Regions from separate parts of the Homo sapiens genome. Here all the other regions are linked to region 1. The links are contacts of gene promoters, found by promoter capture Hi-C in blood cells and fetal thymus (Javierre and others, 2016). All regions are on one chromosome and are shown on one strand. Each heading gives the region's core, a stretch centred on a gene start or on the middle of the fragment in contact. The rest is flanking DNA. Distances are from core to core; before and after follow the strand shown. Region 1 holds the start of TNFRSF11A (TNF receptor superfamily member 11a). Region 2 overlaps ZCCHC2 (zinc finger CCHC-type containing 2). Region 3 overlaps PIGN (phosphatidylinositol glycan anchor biosynthesis class N). Region 4 overlaps ZCCHC2 (zinc finger CCHC-type containing 2).

What was found. Contacts are between HindIII fragments. The CHiCAGO score rates a contact against its expected background, and 5 or more counts as called.
Region 2: a fragment that was not itself captured here is called in contact with the fragment with the promoter of TNFRSF11A in region 1 in 4 of 17 cell types (megakaryocytes, M1 macrophages, naive CD8 T cells and 1 more); the score reaches 7.1 in megakaryocytes.
Region 3: a contact is called between a fragment that was not itself captured here and the fragment with the promoter of TNFRSF11A in region 1, in 1 of 17 cell types (megakaryocytes). The highest score is 5.9, in megakaryocytes.
Region 4: a fragment that was not itself captured here is called in contact with the fragment with the promoter of TNFRSF11A in region 1 in 2 of 17 cell types (megakaryocytes and M1 macrophages); the score reaches 6.2 in megakaryocytes.

The regions. Positions count from the first base shown.
Region 1 is chr18:62,324,045-62,326,786 of GRCh38, forward strand. TNFRSF11A (TNF receptor superfamily member 11a) reads left to right here and starts at 1,266. Exons shown (of 10, transcript NM_003839.4): 1 at 1,266-1,383. The coding sequence starts at 1,309. RefSeq lists silencers at 898-1,107, 1,158-1,357. The HindIII fragment of the contact is 5,361 bases long and covers 188-2,742 here.
Region 2 is chr18:62,564,153-62,566,954 of GRCh38, forward strand. ZCCHC2 (zinc finger CCHC-type containing 2) reads left to right here. Exons shown (of 14, transcript NM_017742.6): 10 at 419-483; 11 at 850-944. Among named protein-coding and RNA genes, the nearest start is that of ZCCHC2, 43 kb to the left of the region's middle. The HindIII fragment of the contact is 4,373 bases long and covers 1-2,802 here.
Region 3 is chr18:62,178,921-62,181,698 of GRCh38, forward strand. All of the region lies in intron 1 of PIGN (phosphatidylinositol glycan anchor biosynthesis class N), which reads right to left. Among named protein-coding and RNA genes, the nearest start is that of PIGN, 6.7 kb to the right of the region's middle. The HindIII fragment of the contact is 576 bases long and covers 980-1,555 here.
Region 4 is chr18:62,534,121-62,536,820 of GRCh38, forward strand. The region is part of intron 1 of ZCCHC2 (zinc finger CCHC-type containing 2); the gene reads left to right. Among named protein-coding and RNA genes, the nearest start is that of ZCCHC2, 12 kb to the left of the region's middle. The HindIII fragment of the contact is 864 bases long and covers 839-1,702 here.

The DNA.
Region 1 (2,742 bases), core at 16-2,515:
TTGTTTCTCAGAAACCCAGACCCCCAACAAAACAGATCCACTGGCATGCAGACCTCAGACAAGGGGGAAATGAGGACGGAACTGACCACCATTCTTTCTTCTAAATTTCTTCCTGAAGGGCAAGGAGGAAGTCACACCCACGAGCCAGAGCTAACATTCATTTTTGCTGACCCCAAATTTTTAACAAAGCTTCTCTTCCTTCACTGATGGCAAGTCAGAAAATCTTTGAATGTATAACCTATAAGCACCCTCACTTTAAAGATTTTCAAGATATCCCAGCTTGTTAGACCAAACCAATGTGCAACCTCCGTGTATTATGATTTTGCCTGTAACTTCTGCTTTCTTGAAATTAACCCTGCGTTTAAAAATCCTTACTTGCAAGCCAACTGAAGGTCAGGATTTAAGCAAGAGCTGCCCCATTCTCCTTGCCTGGAGCTCTGCAGATAAGCGCCCTCTTTTCTCCCAGTGCAAACCTTAGTGCGGATGGCTTGGCCTTACTGCACCAGAAGAACGGACCTCAGTTTTTAGGTAACACTGTGCCCCAGACATCTGGCCACTTTATGTCTGAAAGGGCCAATGTGGTGATGGGGGCTGGGGGACGCCTCAAGGCTGGCGGAGCCTGGTGCCTTTCTAGAATTTGGTGGGTGCAGGACGGGTGAGGGGCGGAGGCAGAGGATCAGGAGAAGAAAAAGAGATAGTGGCTGCTGGCCCCAACATTTTGAAGCAAAGAACAAGAGGAGTATTTTACGAAGATTGGCGGATGGTGTATTGTGTTGATGCCTTAACTGCAGTCGACGAAATCTCCAGGAAGGATCCTCCTCCCGTTCATTCTCGACGGTGGCGCATCCACTTTCGGAAGGCCGGGCCTCGAAGGGTGGGCGCGCGGGGCAGGAGCAGGACCACCCCGATGCCCCCATTCCTTCCCGGGAGGCGGGGCCCACAGGCCTGGGGTGCGGCAAGGCAGGAGCCAGTGCCGTGAAGGGCAACCCAGGGCTGGTCTCCCGCCAACCTGTCTGCAGCCCGAGCACCTGGGCCAGGGGCGGAGACCGGACCAAGGAGGCACCGGGCGCGGCGAACACCCCCGGGGCCCCTCCCCGAGCGGGGCCCCGCGTCCCACCGCAAACCAGGGGAGCTTGGGCACCACCTGGCTGGCACCGCCGGGCCCGGCCGGAGGGGGGCGCAGGAGGGCGGCGCGGGGGCAGGTGCGGGGCGGGGCACGGGGGCGGGACCACACAGGGCCGCGGCAGCCGCGCCCGCTGGGCCACAGAGGCCGCTGAGGCCGCGGCGCCCGCCAGCCTGTCCCGCGCCATGGCCCCGCGCGCCCGGCGGCGCCGCCCGCTGTTCGCGCTGCTGCTGCTCTGCGCGCTGCTCGCCCGGCTGCAGGTAAGGAGCGCCCGCGCCTGCCGGGCCGCGCGGCCCGACGCCTCCTCGGGAGCCCCGGGAAGGGCCGGGGCCGGCGGCATCCTGGCTCCTCCGCCTTCCGAGAGGAGCCGGAGTTTTGGGGAGCGGAGGCCGTGGGAAGCTGGGGAGGCGCTTCCAGAGTTGGACGGCGGAGGGCGGGAAAGGGCAAGCGGAGGGAAACTGGGGCGCAGAAGGAGCAGGTTGGCGGGACCGCAACACCCGAAACGGGCTCTTCCAAAAGCCCCTCTTAGCCGCAGGCTTTGATGCTGTCATTTTCTCCAAATGCTTCTTGAGCACCTACTAAGCGCTTGCGCCGGGCGGTGCCGCGGGAGACAGCGCCGTGGGCACCTCACTTGCGGCAGATAACCGTTCCCGATACGATTTCTCCCGGGTGGCCTCCGTCCCAAATTTCCACCCGGAAAGAGACATGATTCCCTCCGTCCCTGAACTGCGGGCTTGCCTTTGCCTCCCCTGAGCCCCTTCGGGGACACCCCTGCCAGCTCGCCTGGAGGCCCCGCACGGCGGGGAGAGACTGCGCGCGCGCCCCGGGGATGCTGGACTTGACCCTCGCAGACCCGAGTGGCTTCCCGGTCCTCTCGGAACAGGTTTCTCAGTACAGTTAGCAAGCGAATGCAGCCAGGCACGGACTTTCTGCCTCGTGGAGGAGGGCCGCAGAGGGAAGCACACCCAGCACAACAAACGCTTTAAAAATCGTTGATACGAACTTGAAAGCTCTCACAGGGAAGGGCGAGTGGTGGTTTTCTTGGTTTCGGCTGGGTCAGATTTCCCCTCTGTTAACACTAGGTTAGGCTGCTGCCGTCCCTCCGCAGCCGGGCACGGAACCCGGAGAGGCGTGGGGAGGGACGCATGGAGAATCGTGTTTGGGTGAGAAGAGAGGGGAAAAGCCTTGACAGAAATAATGTGGGTGCACTGAAGGCTGAAGCAAAAGATTCTAGGGAAGATTCATTCCCAATTGTATGGGTCTGTCAGTATGGTTGAGGGAAACGAAGGCGGAAAAGTCTAAAGGATTTTTTCATTTTAAGCACTTCAGGTGTTGCTTAATTAAGTGTTCAACAGGTTGAACGGGGTGCTACCTTATTTGAACCAAAGGACCAGGGTTTCAGCGAACAGCTAGCCACCTAAGAAAAACCTGCCTGACCACGCAGTTGCAAAATTATCTCTCACTGCTGTCGCAAAATGACATATTCATATGTGCATAAAAGGCGTTCGGTTCTAATATGAACAACAAATGCTATCAAAATAAGTTTATTTTTCAGGGAGACCTTTCAACAAATGCTGTTTCCCGTCTTTTTGCCTTTAAGCCCCTTTCATTATGCATGT
Region 2 (2,802 bases), core at 3-2,502, 240 kb after region 1:
AAAGCCCGTCTGAGTTTACTTTCCCTCCCCTACTCCAGTGCCTGCACCCTCTCTTCTTAGAGTTGACGTAGTTAAGTGTTGACAGTTATATGGAATTGTACTTGAAGAGAATAGTAGTAAACCTACAGCAAGTGCCAGTCACTTGATTGTGTTTCATTTTATAGTCAGAAAAAAGAATGTAGGTCCATTTTCAAAGAAAAATAGAAAATAATACTGTATTAATCATGAGGAAAATATGTAAGTGTCACAGAATATGTAAATTTTAGTGGTTCAGGTGGGAAACTTCAAAAATAGGTTGGAAATCAACACTTGTTAGAATATACAACTGGGAATCTATCATTTTAATGTTTATTATGAGAGTAAAAACGTCAAAATGGTTTAGCTTTTGTCTGATTTGTCTTTTTATTCTTTCTACTAGCATTCTGCTGAAAAACGGAGTTTATCTTCAATAAATAAGAAGAAAGGAAAGCCACAAACAGAAAAGTAGGTTCAATTTAAGGAAAGACAGCATATAGCCTTTGATAATAGGCCTGTTTAGTTTATGATAGTATACAACATAGTATTTTTTTAGTTAGTTTTCTTTATATTTTTAATTCTGGGTTTTACTCTTTTGGTTCAAAATATTAATATATGCAGGTGATAAAAATAAAGCTACTGTCAAATATTGCATTCAGTTTGGAGGGGTAAAACTCTCAGAACTTTCCACGGAAGGGCGAATCTTAATTGTATTTAGATTATTCCTTACTAAAAAAATTTGAAGAGTCTTGAAGGAAATTTTATCAATACTGTACTGAATGTGTTTGGTAGATAACCTTATTAAAATGTTGGCAATATGTTCATTTGGTTTAGGGAGAAAATTAAGAAAACTGACAACAGATTGAATAGTAGAATAAATGGTATTAGACTCTCCACTCCTCAGCATGCCCATGGTGGTACTGTGAAAGGTAAGAAGGTTATTTTTCTTTCAAATACCCATCACATAAATATATTCAGCATGATACTTACTGTATTAATAGATACTGAGCTGTTGTGTCAAATCCTAATACTATAAGTTTACCTTGTGTTGATATGTACAGCAATTTCCAAATTAAACAGTTCTGAAATCAATGGAGTTAATTTAGGGAATACAAACCAGCCATGGGGGTGGAGATTGCCTTTGCCTCAGTGATTCTCACCTGCCTCTCCCTTCTGGCAGCAGGAGTCTCCCAGGTTGTTCTTCTCCAGCCAGTTCCAACTCAGGAGACAGGTCCCAAGGCCATGGGAGATCTCTCCTGTGGCTTTGCCGGCCGCTCATGAGAGTGTTTTTGTGTAAAGTATTTTTTAGAATACTGTTGACTTCTTCATGATTTAATAACCATCCTTTGCGAAGTTTTATGAGGCTTTAGGGGAATGTCAACCCTCAAATTTTTGTTATACTAGATGGCTTCCATTTACCCACCACTATTTTAAGGTCCCTTTATTTTTAGGTTCAAGGTTCATTTGACTTGAGAAAGTGCCCTTCTGCAGCTTCATTGATTTTGTTTATCTTCACTATTAATTGTAACGATTAAAAAAGAATAAGAGCACGCAGACCTCTAGGAGAATATTTTATCCCTGGGTGCCCCTGACACATTTATGTAGTGATCCCACAAATGTGATTGTTAATTTAAATGTTATTCTAATATTAGTACATTCAGTTGTGATGTAATATGAATAACCAGAATCTATTTCTTAAAAGTTTTGAGTATATTTTTCAACTAGATATTTGTATAGAAAGACTGAATAGTGATGAAGAAAAAAAATAGTTACCTTTTGAATCTGAAATAATCTGGGCCAGACACGGTGACTCACACCTGTAATCCCAGCACTTTGAGAGGCCAAGGTGAGTGGATCACCTGAGGTCAGGAGCTCGAGACCAGCCTGACCAACATGATGAAAACCTGTCTCTACTAAAAATACGAAAATTAGCCAGGCGTGGTGGCACATGCCTGTAATCTCAGCTACTCGGGAGGCTAAGGCAGGAGAGTCGCTTGAACCCGGGAGGCAGAGGTTGCAATGAGCCACGACTGCGCCATTGCACTCCAGCCTGGGCAACAAGAGTGAAACTCCATCTCAAATAAATAAATAAATAATAAATTAAAAAACTAAAATCATCTGGCCAACTCATTGAAGCATTGGAAGTGGGAGTAAAATAACATGGACAAAACCCATCTTGTCTGTAGAAGGATCTTGTAACACTTACTATCTCTGAGGTTCCCTCTGGTGGCGATGGCAGCTTAACGGAGGAGGAACAAGCTAAATGAGGAAGACAGAAGTCTGTCGGTGGACATTTGGAGATTGATGCTGCTGGCCCTCCCTGTCTCTGTTCCTTCTCTTTCTAGTTCATTTTCCATACTGCTGCCGTGTTTGTTTTCTAAAATACCATTTTCTGAATGAAATTCCTGCCCTCCACAAGCTCACTCTGTCTCTTGTCTCACAGTGTTTGGGAACTACTGCTCACTAAAGAAGTTTGCAACTGTTTTTTCGATGTTAGCCCATTTCCAGAGGAGAAGCACGTGGACGTTGGTCAGAGACAGTTAGGGTTTGAGTGTTGTGCTCCCCCAGTTTATTAAGCATGTGACCTCTCTGATGCCTTTGTTTGCTCATTTGTAAAACAGGAGTAATGCCTGCTTCAGCAGATTGTAAGAATTACATGTAAAAACATGAAGAGCATTTTCCTAGTTCCAAGTACCTAGGTGTTCACTGCAGCAATTTAGTTCCTTTTCCTTGTTCTAATAAATTAGAGGGAAACATACATTGTATAGGTTATTAAGAACTTTGTAA
Region 3 (2,778 bases), core at 18-2,517, 150 kb before region 1:
AACTCTACCAGGATACCACAGGGCAGCTAGTCACCATATCTCCTTAGGCTTCTCTTGGCTGTGATAATTTCTCAGACTTTGCTTGTTTTGATGACCTTGTGAGTTTTGAGGAGTACTGGTCAGAGATTTTGTATAATGTCTTGCTATTGGGATTTATCTGATGTTTTTCTCATGGTAAGTCTGGGGTTATGGGTTCAGGAGAGGAAACATACATACATAAAGTACCATTTTCTTCACATCACATTAAGGGTACTGTCAACATGACTTACTAAACTGTTAATATAAAACTTGACCACTTGGCTGAGGCGGTTTGTTCAGTTTGTCCTCTGTAAAGTTCACTGTAAAGTTTCTCCATGTAAATGTTCCCCCATTTCATACTATAGTTTTTGGTAGGAAGTCACTACGTGCAGCCAACACTTAAAGAGTGAGGAGTTACACTCCACCTCCTGAGATGACGAGGCACCTACATAAATTGATGTTCTTCTGTATGAAGAGTATATATGTTAAACCCAGTCAATTGTGTAATTAAAAGCCATCTGTCGGTCAGGCCTGATGGCTCACACCTGTAATCCTAGCACTTTATGAGGCCAAGGCAGGTGGATCACTTGAGCTCAGGAGTTTGAGACCAGCCTGGGCAATGTGGTGAAACCCCATCTCTACAAAAAATGCAAAAAAATTAGTCAGGCATGGTGGCACATGCCTGTAGTCCCAGCTACTTGTGGGGCTGAGGCAGGAGGATTGCTTGAACCCCGGAGATCGAGGCTGCCAGTGAGCTGAGATCACGCCACTGCACTCCAGCCTGGGTGACAAAGTGAGACCCTGTCTCAAAATAAATAAATACATACATAAATAAAAGCCATCTGTCATTCTACAAGATTACATTAATATTATAATCATCATCATTTCCACTCCTGCTTTCCCCACCTTACTTGAAATTAATTTTTACCAGTATAGATGCAAAGCCATTATTTCTTTTATAAGCTTATTCTAATCAGTACTACCAAAAAAGCCTTATAAATGATCTCAAACATTCAAGACCTATATTCTATTATATGACTCTATTACAATTTAATTGAACACTATCCTGCTGATCAACATCACTCGCAGTTGTCATGATTACAAATAATATGGCAATTAAGCTGCTCTCTTATGGTAAAGGTGGAGATTTTTAGAATTTTTACAAACTGTAGAGTAGTGACCCATAACAAAATAATTTCATGGACTGCAATTAGCCTTCTTTCCTTTTTTTAAAAAATGAAATAGAATACAGTACAATAGGATTGGATAAAATATAGAATATATCACATCACAAAGTACTTCAGAAGTAGTACATGATTATTTTGAAAAAGTGTGTTTTTTTCCTGTGTATCCACGCATCAATATTCTTGCATGTACATAACCTGTACTGAAAGTTTTATTTTAAATTATTCTATGGACCAATAAGATTGAAAGCCACCTCTATAAGTGGAATTGCTCTAATAAACAAAATTTTCAACTTTACAAGTGACTGGCAAAGTGTCCATACTAATTTACATACTCTCCAGCAATGTACGAAAGCTTCTATATCTCTAAATCCCCCTAATTGCTTGATACTGTCATATTTACCTTAAGACAATTTGAACAGGCCAAATTGGCATCCTGTTATTTGAATATGTATTTGCCTGATTACTAGTGAGTATGAAAATTTTTTCATGTTTTTATTGGCCAATTGGGTCTCTCTTCCTTTCAACTGCCTATTCATATCCTTTGATCAGATAGGATTAGGGTTATTGACCTTTTATTTGACTTGTACATTACAATTATATGTGTGTGTATGTTTATATAGTGTGTGTATGTTTATACATAGCTAGATATACACATTTATATATAAATGTTGTTCATAGGGCCTTTTGTTAAAATAAATTTTTCAACTTTAATACAGTAAAATTTGTCAAACATTTATCCTTTCTGGTGTGAGTTTTTTGTGTCTTGTACTATAGAAGAAAACTTTCCTGGTTCTTATGTCACATATATTCTTCTAATAGTTTTAGATTTTTGTTTTTTACCTTTCATTATTTAAAATTTATTTGTGTTGGTTTGTGTCCTCTGAAACAAAAATAATTATTTGTATATGGTGTGAGGTAGACATCAGCTTATGTTTTTAACCAGCTCACAAGTATTAGTACTGCTACTAGTGTAGAATTTACTATGATAAAATTACACATCAGAAAGAAAAAGGTTTTAAACCTTTACATTCAAATCTTGGCTTTTGCTATTTGTAATAATAAAAAATTGGAAACAATATCTAACCATAGGGAACAGATAAATTGTTTATTCATAATGAAATACCATATTTCTGAAAAGGATACATCTCATAAATATCAGTATTAATAAAAAAAATTTTAAACATCTATTGCCCTTTTCTCCCCAACACAGTCAAACTTCTTGAAAAGGCTGAATGTGACCTCTTTTTTTTCCTGACCACCTAAATCTCAAACAACTTAAACCTTATTGTCATTACTTCATAAGAAAGTAAAGACAGTTAACAGTGCAAAATCTAATAGCTATTTTTTAGTCTTCATTTTCTAAGCAACCTAAGCTTCCTGGGCTAAGTCATCCTCCCACCTCAGCTTCCCAAGTAGCGGGGACCACAGGTGCATGTTTACCACATTCAGCTAATTTTTGTATTTTTTGTAGAGCGGGGGTCTTGCCATGTTGCCCAGGCTGGTCTTGAACTCCTGGGCTCAAGTCATCTACTCACCTCGGCCTCCTAAAGTGCTGGGATTACAGGTGTGAGTT
Region 4 (2,700 bases), core at 21-2,520, 210 kb after region 1:
GCAGCCTAGGCAACATACCAAGACCCCATCTCTAAAAAAAATTAGCCTGGCATGGTGGTACATGCCTGTAGTCCTAGCTACTCAAGAGACGGAGGTGGGAAGATTGCTTGAGCAGAGAGGTCAAGGCTGAAGTGAGCCGTGATTGCGTTGCTGTGCAATCCAGCCTGGGAGACAGAGGGAGATCCTGTCTTAAAAAAAAAAAAAAAAATCTGATTATTTGTACTCCCTGTGTTAATTGAGCTTTTGTGTGTGGGTGCATAAATTGGTGCAGACCTAGCAGTGACATTTTGATAGGATGGAAAAGTCATATATTAACCTATTTTCTTATTGCTTGGATAGTTGATGGTAGGTAGCCTGTAGTGTTTGATCTCCAGTTTATGATCTACTTGAGGGGTGGTGTGAGTCAGATGTAGAATTGGGGTAGTGCCTTGTGTGATTGGAAAGATAATTAAACTTTGGTCACTGAAGTGAACGCTCTATAACATAAATGTTGGGGAATTTTTATGTTTCTTGTTAGAAATGTCTAAATTGGGATGTGTCCCGTAGTACAGTTGATTTTTGTCTTGGGTATCAAATGATTGAAATTCACTGGTGGTCCTAAATGGGAGACGGCATGGTCACATGTGAACCAAATGCTGTAATGTTTGGGAGTATTTGCTTGAAAAGAGGTCATCCCTCATACAGAGAGGTTGTGGCATTGAGTATTGAGTAGTTTTATTAGTTTGGGAAAATTGCCCATTCTATAATAACTAGTGGTGTGAAACACAAGTCCTAATGCAGTGTTGGCAACACTATATAGTAAATCAGTTACTGCCGTAGATCCTTCTTAGGTTCTATAAGCTTATGTTTCTACAAGGTTCCAAGAATGTTTTTGCACTGGGGGTGAAGCAGTGGCTCTGCTGCAGGTGCTAGAAGGCATGGAAGCTCCTTCCAGCTTCTGAGCCCAGGCTCACATCCTTCCTGACGACCCCTTGGCCTCCCTCCCTCATCTCTCGTGGGGCGAGACTGCGACAGCGAAGGCAGAGTCAGATGTGGGCTGGGGAGGAGATGTGCGCTTCTCTAGATCCTTGTGCACTCATGCATGCATTCTTTTCACCTCACCCCAGAACACCCTGATGTGGGGACTTAAAGATGTGGGGGCTGCTGGCCCAGGGATATAGCAATTTCTGGATCATCTTCCTAGTTCTAGGGTTAAAAGATGTTTTCCTTCTGTAGTGAGAGCATGTTGGCAAAGGAAGCACAGATGCCAGTGCTGAAGGAGGAGACCTATGAATCTGCCTATTTAAAGAACAGAATTACCCCCAAACTTAGTGGTGTAAAACAATGACCATTTTATTACCATCTCTCACAGTTTTGTGGGTGAGGGATTTAGACAAATAACTATAGTGAAGAGTTTGTCTCTGTTCTAGGGTGTCTGGGACACAGCTGGGGCCCAGATGGCATCCCTAGACCCCTCTCCTCTCTCCACGTGGTCCATCAAGTGCGGCTGCCAGGAGAAGTGCATGTCTCATGTGGTGTCTCAGGACTCCAAGCCCAAGTGTCCAGGAGGCCCAGGGCTGAGGCTTCCCAGGACCTAACTTTAGAAGAGCATCACCACCAGCACATTCTAAAGCCAGCCTAGATCCACTGGGTGGGGAATTGGTTCCACTTTTCAGCGGGAGGAATATTAAATAATTTTTAGCTACCTTTAATCCGCCACGGAAGCTTAATAGAATGTTGTTATATATTGCTGTTAATTTTCTAAGTCTCATTTGACAATTGGGAAAACTTCAGAAGAAGTTAGTGACTTTGGTTTTAAAAAATAAAAAACTCTTACTGCTGTGTTATTATATTTGGAATATCTTGGATTTTTAAATTTATAGTCTATATCGAGGGACTACAAGAACCATGTAGAATATTGTTAGACGAACTAAAACTCCATCTATGACCTTTGTTCTAATGGTATGTTTTCAGAGAAGAGTTTTTTAGGATGTCCAGCTACTTGGCTGTTTCACAAGGTCCCCACAGTTAAGAAATCTCAAGTATGTAATTGTGATGGGTCTACGTGTGATCTGTGGCAAAACCATCTAGACCACCTGAACCACATGCCGTGTAGGTTTGTGCTAACCAGTAGCTCTTGAGGCAAGCGATAGGACAGAAGAAGCTCTGCCTCAGGCGAGTTAAGAAAGGAGAATGCACTCCTACTAAAGTTCTTTGTATGCTTGTGCGTATTTTTGCAGGTTTAGAATCTTTAAACCCTGCTTTCTTGATACAAACAGAGAAAAATCCACTTTTCTCGTGGTCCTGACACTTTTCTCCAACTAGTCTTTGTAAAATACTGATTCTGGCATTTCATCTGTTCTGCATTTTCATGGGAATCTGAACTTAACAGATAAAGTGGGTGCCATTCCTCTTTATATGATTCCATTAAAGAAGGAGTTCTCAGATTTTATGCTACCCATCCCCCTAAGGAAAGTAAAGAGGGAGTGCAGGGCAGACAGCATCGCCGAGCAGCCACCCACCATTGGGGCTGCCGATTCTCATCTCCAGCTCATGCAGCGTTACATGAGTGAGTTTAGTAATAGCTTCTAAACATAGTCTACGTGATTTTATAGCATTGATACATGCTGAGACTTGGAGGAGAAAATAAACATTTAATTAGTAGATATATCATGGGTTGATGAACTTAGGACTTTGGATAGAAACTCAAACTTCATTTTT